Linked DNA regions of Homo sapiens: region 2 is linked to region 1. The links are contacts of gene promoters, found by promoter capture Hi-C in human tissues and cell types (Jung and others, 2019). All regions are on one chromosome and are shown on one strand. The core of a region is centred on a gene start or on the middle of the fragment in contact, and the rest is flanking DNA. Distances in the headings are between cores, read along the strand shown. Region 1 holds the start of CA12 (carbonic anhydrase 12). Region 2 overlaps RAB8B (RAB8B, member RAS oncogene family).

Evidence for each region. The method cuts DNA at HindIII sites, captures the fragments that hold promoters and counts their contacts. A contact is called where the count stands out against the background at its distance.
Region 2: a fragment that was not itself captured here is called in contact with the fragment with the promoter of CA12 in region 1 in 1 of the 25 tissues and cell types used here (spleen).

The regions. Positions count from the first base shown.
Region 1 is chr15:63,380,162-63,384,336 of GRCh38, forward strand. It overlaps CA12 (carbonic anhydrase 12), which reads right to left and starts at 1,685. Exons shown (of 11, transcript NM_001218.5): 1 at 1,475-1,685. The coding sequence starts at 1,559. RefSeq lists enhancers at 1,369-1,889, 1,890-2,409. The HindIII fragment of the contact is 12,151 bases long and covers 1-4,175 here.
Region 2 is chr15:63,245,370-63,249,544 of GRCh38, forward strand. All of the region lies in intron 2 of RAB8B (RAB8B, member RAS oncogene family), which reads left to right. Among named protein-coding and RNA genes, the nearest start is that of APH1B, 30 kb to the right of the region's middle. The HindIII fragment of the contact is 7,123 bases long and covers 1-4,175 here.

The sequences.
Region 1 (4,175 bases), core at 435-2,934:
GGTAGGCAGTCTCCTTCCTCAGAGTGAGGCGAAAGTGGAGTTTTGACTACAAACTTCCCCAGTCCCAACTTGGAGAATTGGGAGAGGAGATAAGGAGGAGGGAAAGGGAGAGGGAAGAGGAAGAGCAGGGAAAGTAGGGAAGAAAGGAAGGGGAGGGAGGGAAGAGAACAGGGAAGGGCAGGAAAAGAGAGAGAAGGGAGGCAGAGCTGCCCCAGAGTGAGAGGAGCAACCAGCTATAGGAAAGAGGGCCAACTAATGGCTGTTTCTCCCTTTGGTCTTGGAGCAACTTAGGACTAAAGAGATTTCCAGGGAAACTTTGGTCTCAGTGCAGCTTTCGTAAAAGGAAACATGTAAAGTTTGTGGTTTTAAAACTTGATTTTCACTTTTACATCGCTCCTTTCTCCCAACTTCTGTTACATCGCTTCTGTTTCTCCCTGACCAGATGAGGGAGATAATATCAAGCACATCATGCCAGCTAGTTGACTGGAATTTAATTAAGAGTTATCCACAGCCTGGCTCCCCTGCCCTTCCCCATGGGCACTGTGACCTCCAAGAGAGGAGGCTCAGAGCTTTTATGCTGCTGAGCAGGACACATTTCCCACCACCACTGCCTCGCCAGGAAGAATCTAGTTTCAGCCAGTAAAATCACTTTCGGTCCAAAATCACTTTCTTATTCCAAAAGATTAATGAACCAGCCTTGGCTGTACACGTGTTAGCTCACTGGCCCGGCGTGAGCCCACAGTTCAGGTCCCCTCTGCCACCTCCTCCTGTCACTCCACGGAGCCTCCATTCAGTCCCTCAGCCTCCAGCCTTTTGGGATTTAGTGTTCTAATTACAATCAGAAATATGCTGTGTGTGTGTGTGTGTGTGTGTGTGTGGTTTGTGTGCGTGCGCGCGTGCGTGTGTGTGTGTACGTGCACACACACGTACATTCAGCATAGTAGAGCCCTCCTGGAGAAAAACAATGATTAAGAATGGGATGCATCATCCCTTTGACTTGTAGGTAAGACTTAATGGTAAAGATCCTCTCCTCCAAAGAAAAGCGCCTACCACTGTCTGCGGGTTCTGCACAGGGGCACAGCAAACCTTTCTCTGTGCTTACCCCAATCAGAATGCCACAGTCATGTCTCTACTTTCTAAACGTGGATCAGGGGAACGCTGTTTTAAATCTTGGCTTTGCATCTCCTCCCTGGTTAGCAAGTTCCCAAGCCACATCTTCAGAGCTGGCGGTGCCCGGGAGTACACGCAAACATTTTAACACCAAATCTGCGCCAAGCGCCACTAGAAAGCAACGTGCTTCCCGACCCAACCTCAGCAAAGGAAAACGGAGCATCCTTTCTTGAGAATCTACTATTTGGTACTACACCTTCCCTGCTCCCCGCAGCAATGATTTTACTTTATCATTGAAGAGCCTTCAGCCCAGGGGCGGCTGAGCGCTCAGGAGTGTTAGGAAAGAAGCAGGCGGAAACTTTACCGTTCACTGGGGCCGGGCTGGAAGGCTGTTCCTTTAAGATCACCAGCAGGAGCACGGCCGCCGCGTGCAGGCTGCGCCGGGGCATCTTCGCGGGCTCCTGCGGGGCGGGCGCGGGCTGTGCCGGGGGCTCCCGGTGGCCGCTCGCTCTCCAGCTGCACACCGGGACCGCGTGCGCGCAGCCTGGGTGCCGTGGCGAGTACGTCCGCCCTTCGCTCTCCTGGCTTCCCCGGGCAGCTTTTATGGAGCAACTCAACGCCAAACACTTGATGTCATCGTGCGGGGAGGGGGTGGGGGAGGAGAACGCCCTGCCCACCGGAGGGCTGGCGCCCCAGATCCTAGGTGAGTTGTAGCCTTGACTTCAGCAGCACTCTGCGGGTCCCCGGCGCTCCTCTGGGCCAGGGCTGACCCAGGAACACAGTTCTCCGAGGAGCTGCTGGCAGGCGTGGGTGAGATCCGCCTGTCTCACATCCAGAAGGGTGCGTCTAGGGATTCCTTCAGTGGCATGCCCTTGGTCTGTCACTGGTCCTGTAACAGCCCAACGAGTTCACCTTGCCCGCTGCTTAGACAGAGCCCATTTATCAAGACAGGGGAGTTGCAATGGAGAAAGTAATTCACGCAGAGCTTGCCGTGCCGGAGACCGGAGGTTTTCGTTCCTTTGTTTGTTTGTTTGAGACGGAGTCTCGCTCTGTTGCCCAGGCCGGAGTGCAATAGCGTGATCTCGGCTCACTGCAACCTCCGCCTCCCGGGTTCAAGCGATTCTCCTGCCTCAGCCTCCCGAGTAGCTGGGATTACAGGCACATGCCACCATGCCCAGATAATTTTTGTATTTTTAGTAGAGGCGGGGTTTCGCCAGTTTAAGGCTGGCCTTAAACTCCCGACCTCAGATAATTCACCTGCCTTGGCTTCCCAAAGTGCTGGGATTACAGGCGCCCACCACCACACCCGGCTAATTTTTCTAATTTTAGTAGAGACGGGGTTTCACCATGTTGGCCAGGCTGGTCTGGAACTCCTGACCTCAAATGATCCACCTACCTTGGCCTCCTAAAGTACTGGGATTCCAGTACTCAAATCAGTCTCCCCAAGCATTCCGGGAGTTGTTTGTTTGTTTGTTTGTTCAGACGGAGTCTCCCTCTGTCGCCCAGGCTGAAATGCAGTGGCATGGTCTTGGCTCACTGCAACCTCTGCCTCACGGGTTCAAGCGATTCTCCTGCCTCAGCCTCCTGGGTAGCTGGGATTACAGGCACGCGCCGCCACACCCAGCTAATTTTTGTATTTTTAGTAGAGACGGGGTTTCACCATGTTGGCCAGGCTGGTCTTGATCTCTTGATCTCGTGATCCACCTAAAGTGCTGGGATTACAGGCGTTGAACCACTGCACCCTGCCTCTGGGAGTTTTTAAAGATAATTTGGCAGATAGGGGCTTGGGACTTGGGGAGTGCTGATTGGTCAGGTTGCAGATGGGATCACAGGGGGGTTGAAGTAACGTTTTCTTGCAGTCTTCTGTTCCTGGGTGGGATCGCAGAACTGGTTGAGCCAGATCACACACGGTCTGAGTGGTGTCAGCTGATCCATCCAGTGCAGGGTCTGCAAAATAGGATGTTAGATTTTACAATAGCGATGTTATCCCCAGCAGCAACTTGGGAAGGTTCAGACTCTTGCAGCCTGACGCCGCAGGACCCCTAAACCATAATTTCTAATGTTGTAACTAATAGATTAATCGTACAAAGGCAGACTGGCACCCAGGCAAGAAGGGGGTCTTTTCGGGAAAGGGCTATTATTGATTTTGTTTCTGAGTCAAACCATAAACTGAATTCCTTTCTAAGGTTAGTTTGGCCTATGCCCAGGAATGAATAAGGACAGCATGAAAGTTAGAAGAAAGACTGAGTCATTTAGGTCTGATCTTTGTCACTGCCATAATTTCCTCAGTTATAATTTTTGCAAAGGCTGTTTCAGCCCTACTCAGAATCCCCCAAGTATAGTGCCATTTGGGCAAAAGCCTCCTTCATGCTTTTTTTTTTTTTTCTTCAGGTGCCTGCCTGGACTTAGCACAGGTTAAGGAACTGGACAAGATAGTTACATTCACATGAGTTTCTGCCAATTGTTCAGTGCATCCTGATTAAGTTCTTACCTTCCAAGTTGAGATGCAAAGAGATGAACTGAGAATAGGAGAACAGCACAGTGGGGTACACATGAAGAGCTTATCACAATTCCCCTTAGTAACGGGTAAGTAGATGGGACTCATGCTGGTTCAATACATCATTCCATCCTCACTAGGAAGCTGGGAGAGAGGGTCCCTCTTTTGGGGTGGCAGCAGAAGAAAGGGACTTACATTATTTACTGAGCACCCGTTGTGTGTCAGGCACTTTTTTGGGGGGCTTAGAACATGATACCCCAAAGTATGGCACCTTGGCATGCTGAGTACTTTGAACTGAAGGAAACTGAAAAGGCCTCAGAAACAAGGTCTCTCTGACCTTCTCCCATCCTCCTGTCTCCTGCCCCTTCTTCTCCCGCTAAGTGAATCATAGAAACCAGAATCCCTCTTCCCCAGGCAGGTCATAGAAAGTAGAGCCCCTCTCCTCCACAGCAAGCCATAAAATCTAGAAACATCACTCTCTCCCCTCTCCCTTCTCCTTTAAAGACCCTCATTCGAGAGGGGTCCTGCCCCATACCCAGGAGAAAGCAATGCTACACAGAGAGGTCAA
Region 2 (4,175 bases), core at 1,055-3,554, 130 kb before region 1:
AAAAAAAATCATGTCATAGTTCAGACTGCTCTAAGATATTTTTACCACACTTTTTTTCTCATACATAGCACAGTACTTCTGACACCAGATGTCAGGGGGTTCCCCCCACCACCACCAGGTAATTCTCCAGCAGATGCCAATTGGGTGTCCTATACCTTTTTTTTAATTCTTTTTTTAATTTTCTTTTTCTTTCTGGGTGTCCTATAATTTAAGTCAGTTCTGATACTGTCTACCTGGAGATAGCATCAGATCCCACAGGTTGAGGGCTGGGTCCCGCAGTGTCCCCACTTCAGCTGCCAGTCACAAGTACAGGTTAAATATCCCTTATCCAAAATGCTTGGGAACAGAAGTGTTTCCGATTTTGGATATTCTTGGATTTTGGAATATGTGCATATACATAATGAGATATCTTGGGGATGGGACCCAAGTCTAAACACGAAATTCATTTATGTTTCATATACAGCTGGTACACATGAAGCTGAATATAACTTTATACAATATTTTAATAAATTTTTTTTTTGAGACAGAGTTTCGCTCTTGTTGCCCAAGCTGTGGTGCAATGGTGTGAGCTCGGCTCACTGCAACCTCCACCTCCCGGGTTCAAGCGATTCTCCTGCCTCAGCTTCCTGAGTAGCTGGGATTACAGGCATGCGCTACCACGCCCTGCTATTTTTTTGTATTTTCAGTAGAAACGGGGTTTCTCCATGTTAGCCAGCTGGTCTTGAACTCCTGACCTCAGGTAATCCGCCCGCCTCAGCCTCCCAAAGTGCTGGGATTACAGGCGTGAGCCACTGCACCCGGCCAATAAAATTTTTTAAATAAACTGTGTTGTATGTCTACATTTTGACTGTGACCCGTCACGTGAGCTCAGTTGTGTAATATTCTACTATGGCATCATGTTGGCACTCAAAAAGTTTTGGATTTGGGAGCATTTTAGATTTTGGATTTTCAGATTAGGGATACTCAACTGTAGTAGGTTGTCACCTCTACTTCTGACCAACTGGCTATAAATTGGGGTTCTGATGACCCCCCTCCTCTGATTCCTTTAATTTACTAGAGCAGCTCACAGAACTCAGGGAAACACTTTATTTATGTTTACCCATTTATTATAAAGGATATTGCAAAGAATACAGATGAACAGCCAGATGGAAGAGATACACAGGGCAAGCCATGTGGGAAGGAGTGAGGAACTTCCACACTTCCTTCCTTGTGGGAGGGGTCATCTACTCTCCAAGAACATCCAGCACCTCCACGTGTCTCACTCTCCTGAAGCTCTCCAAACCCAGTCCTTTGAGTTTTTATGGAAGCTTCCTTATATAGCCATGATTGATTGCATCGTGGGCCATTGGTGATTAAGTCAACCTTTAGCCCCTCTCCCTTCTCCAGAGGTCGAATGGTAGGACTGAAAGTTCCAGCCCGCTTATCACTTGGTTGGTTCTCCTGGCAACCAGCCTCCTATCCTGTGGCTGAACAGGAGCCCCAGCCACCAGTTATTTCATTAGCGCACAAAAAGAACTTAAACACTTTGTTGGAGATTCCAAGAATTTTAGTATCTGTGTGCCAAGAATCAGGAGCAGAGACCAAATATGTTTCTTATTATATGTGTTCCTTACTGTATCACACTATCACAGCTACTATAACAAAAATACCATAGACTGGGTGTCTTAAACAATAAACATTTATTTCTCACAGTTCTGGAGGCTGGGAAACCCAAGATCAGGGTGCCAGCAGATACAGTGTCTAGTGAAGGTTTGCTTCCTGGTTTGTAGACAGCTGTCTCACTTGTATCCTCACATGGCCCAGAGAGAGATCATCTCTATGGTGTGAAGAGCACTAATCCCTTTCACAACGGCTCCACCCTCATGACCTAATTACCTCCCAAAGTTCCCCTATCTAAATACCATCACATTGAGGATTAGGCTTCAACATATAAATGTTGGAGGAACACAAACTATTAGTCCTTAGGATGTTTCCCAACTCTGATGTTGCAATATGCAAGGCAAAGATCTTATGATTACCCAACTCTGGTTCATAAACTCCTGAAGAATCTGTCCAACTACAGTGAATAAATATGGTTCCTCCAGATTGCTAGGTTGAATATTTTTGACTTGAACTCAGAAGCTCTTCTTAGATTTTTTTTAACCTCCTAGAAGCTGGTTTAATTTCTTTCAGTTCAGTGCCTTGCATGGAGCCATATAGATTTGGAGCTTTTGGAAGGTTGTTGGTGATGTTTGCTGATCTAATGTGTATTGATGACAGCAGTAGACAAAACGTAGAATTCAGAGCAGCACTGGCTAAGAACGAGGCAGGGCTAAAGAGTAAAGTTATACATATTAGCTGTTGCCTTAGGCTGTATTTCTTTTTTGAACTCAGAACTGGGACAGAAGAAGAATATCCCCCAGCTCTTCTTTTATAGAGAAGGAAACAGGGACTGAGAGTGGTTAGGTCCACTCGAGGGCATATGTGATGAAGCTGGGATAACTACTCAACTGCCCTGGAACATAGTGATTGGCTTCCTAGTGGTTTCCAGTGTACTTCACTGGAAAATGTTATGAAGGTTACTATAGGCTGCCCTTTCCATCCATTGGTATTGAACAAGATGCCAAATATTTTACAGATTTAAAAAATTACATCTTTTCTCATGATCCCCTCCTTGGGTTTCTCAGAGAAATATGGTTAGTCTGCTAAAAAGTGCTTGCCTTCCATTTCCCCATGATTTGTTAGCGGTGCAGCAAACAAGTGCCCCATGCATCTAATGCCGATCAAAGAAAATGACAGGATAAGATGGCTTTTTTGTAAGGCCTGGCCCAGAGCTGAACAGCTGAGACCTAAGATGCTTGTCTCCTTCAAGAGTATGAGCTGGGCCGGGTGCAGTGGCTCACGCCTGTAATGCCAGCACGTTGGGAGGCCGAGGCGGGTAGATCACAAGGTCAGGAGTTTGAGACCAGCCTGGTTAATATGGTGAAACCCCATCTCTATTAAAAATACAAAAATTAGCCTGGCGTGGTGGTGGGCTTCTGTAGTCCCAGCTACTTGGGAGGCTGAGGCAGGAGAATCGCTTGAACCCAGGAGGCAGAGGTTGCAGTGAGCCAGGATTGTGCCACTGGACCCCAGCCTGGGTGACAGAGCGAGACTCCATCTCAAAAACAAACAAACAAATAAATAAATACATAAAGAATATGAGCTGTTTAGTGGCACAGCTGGGGCCATAGTTCCTCTGAGCCTGTTTCCTCATCTGCAGAACTTGGATGCTGGTAACACCCCCAGCCAGTAGCCCACCCTAATGGGCTGTGGTAGACATCACGTGAGTGCAGTGTGAAAGTATTTTGTAAGATATATGTCTATGTTAAGGTGTTTATTGCTTTTTAACTTATGATATTCCCTTGGGCCTTCATCTTTTATTAGGATTTGGTATATACTAGATTTCTAGTATATTTCCACAAATGCCTCTTTCTCTCCTGCAATTAAATTGTCTTAGTAGCACAGGGAATGAATTAGTTCTGGCTGGAAGTGGGAAATTTGAGAATATTGATTTTCTCAAGTATCAAGGAAATTTAACTTCCTTTATAGGATTGCTTCTATAAATGAAATCAGAAACTCTTATATTTTTCAGAATGCATTTTAATGGTATGCCATCAGCTAAAAAGCAAAAATATATGAAAGTTTATATAGTTTTGACATGTTGTTTATGTTTAAAAGTCTTTGAAAACGTTGTCAAGATTTATGTGTTGAACTCCAGGTCCCCATGAAATCATGGGCTCCATAGCTGAACAAGTTCTTGAGGAGATCTATTTTATTGTGCTCTACTGAGCAGAATGTACACAGTAATAAGTCCAGCTCGATTGCTTGCTTTATACAGAAATCAGACATTCAGGCAAGAAAGCAAAGTGCTTTAATCATTAAGCACTTACAAAAAGGATTATAACTATCTCGGGGAGTCGAAGAATTTAGAACTATTCTCTATTCCCTCCCACGTGTGTTTGACTAATATAACACACCAGTTCCTAGCAGGATTTTTCTGTGTATTTTTCTGTTGCTGCTTTTATCAAGGTCTGAGTTTTTCACCCAGGTCATTGTGAGCTCTTGACAGGCTCCTGTGGCCACCACCACCTCCAGCTTGCAGATGTGCAAAGGGCTCCCTCTGTGTCTCATTCTCCTTTCCTCTGTGACCACTG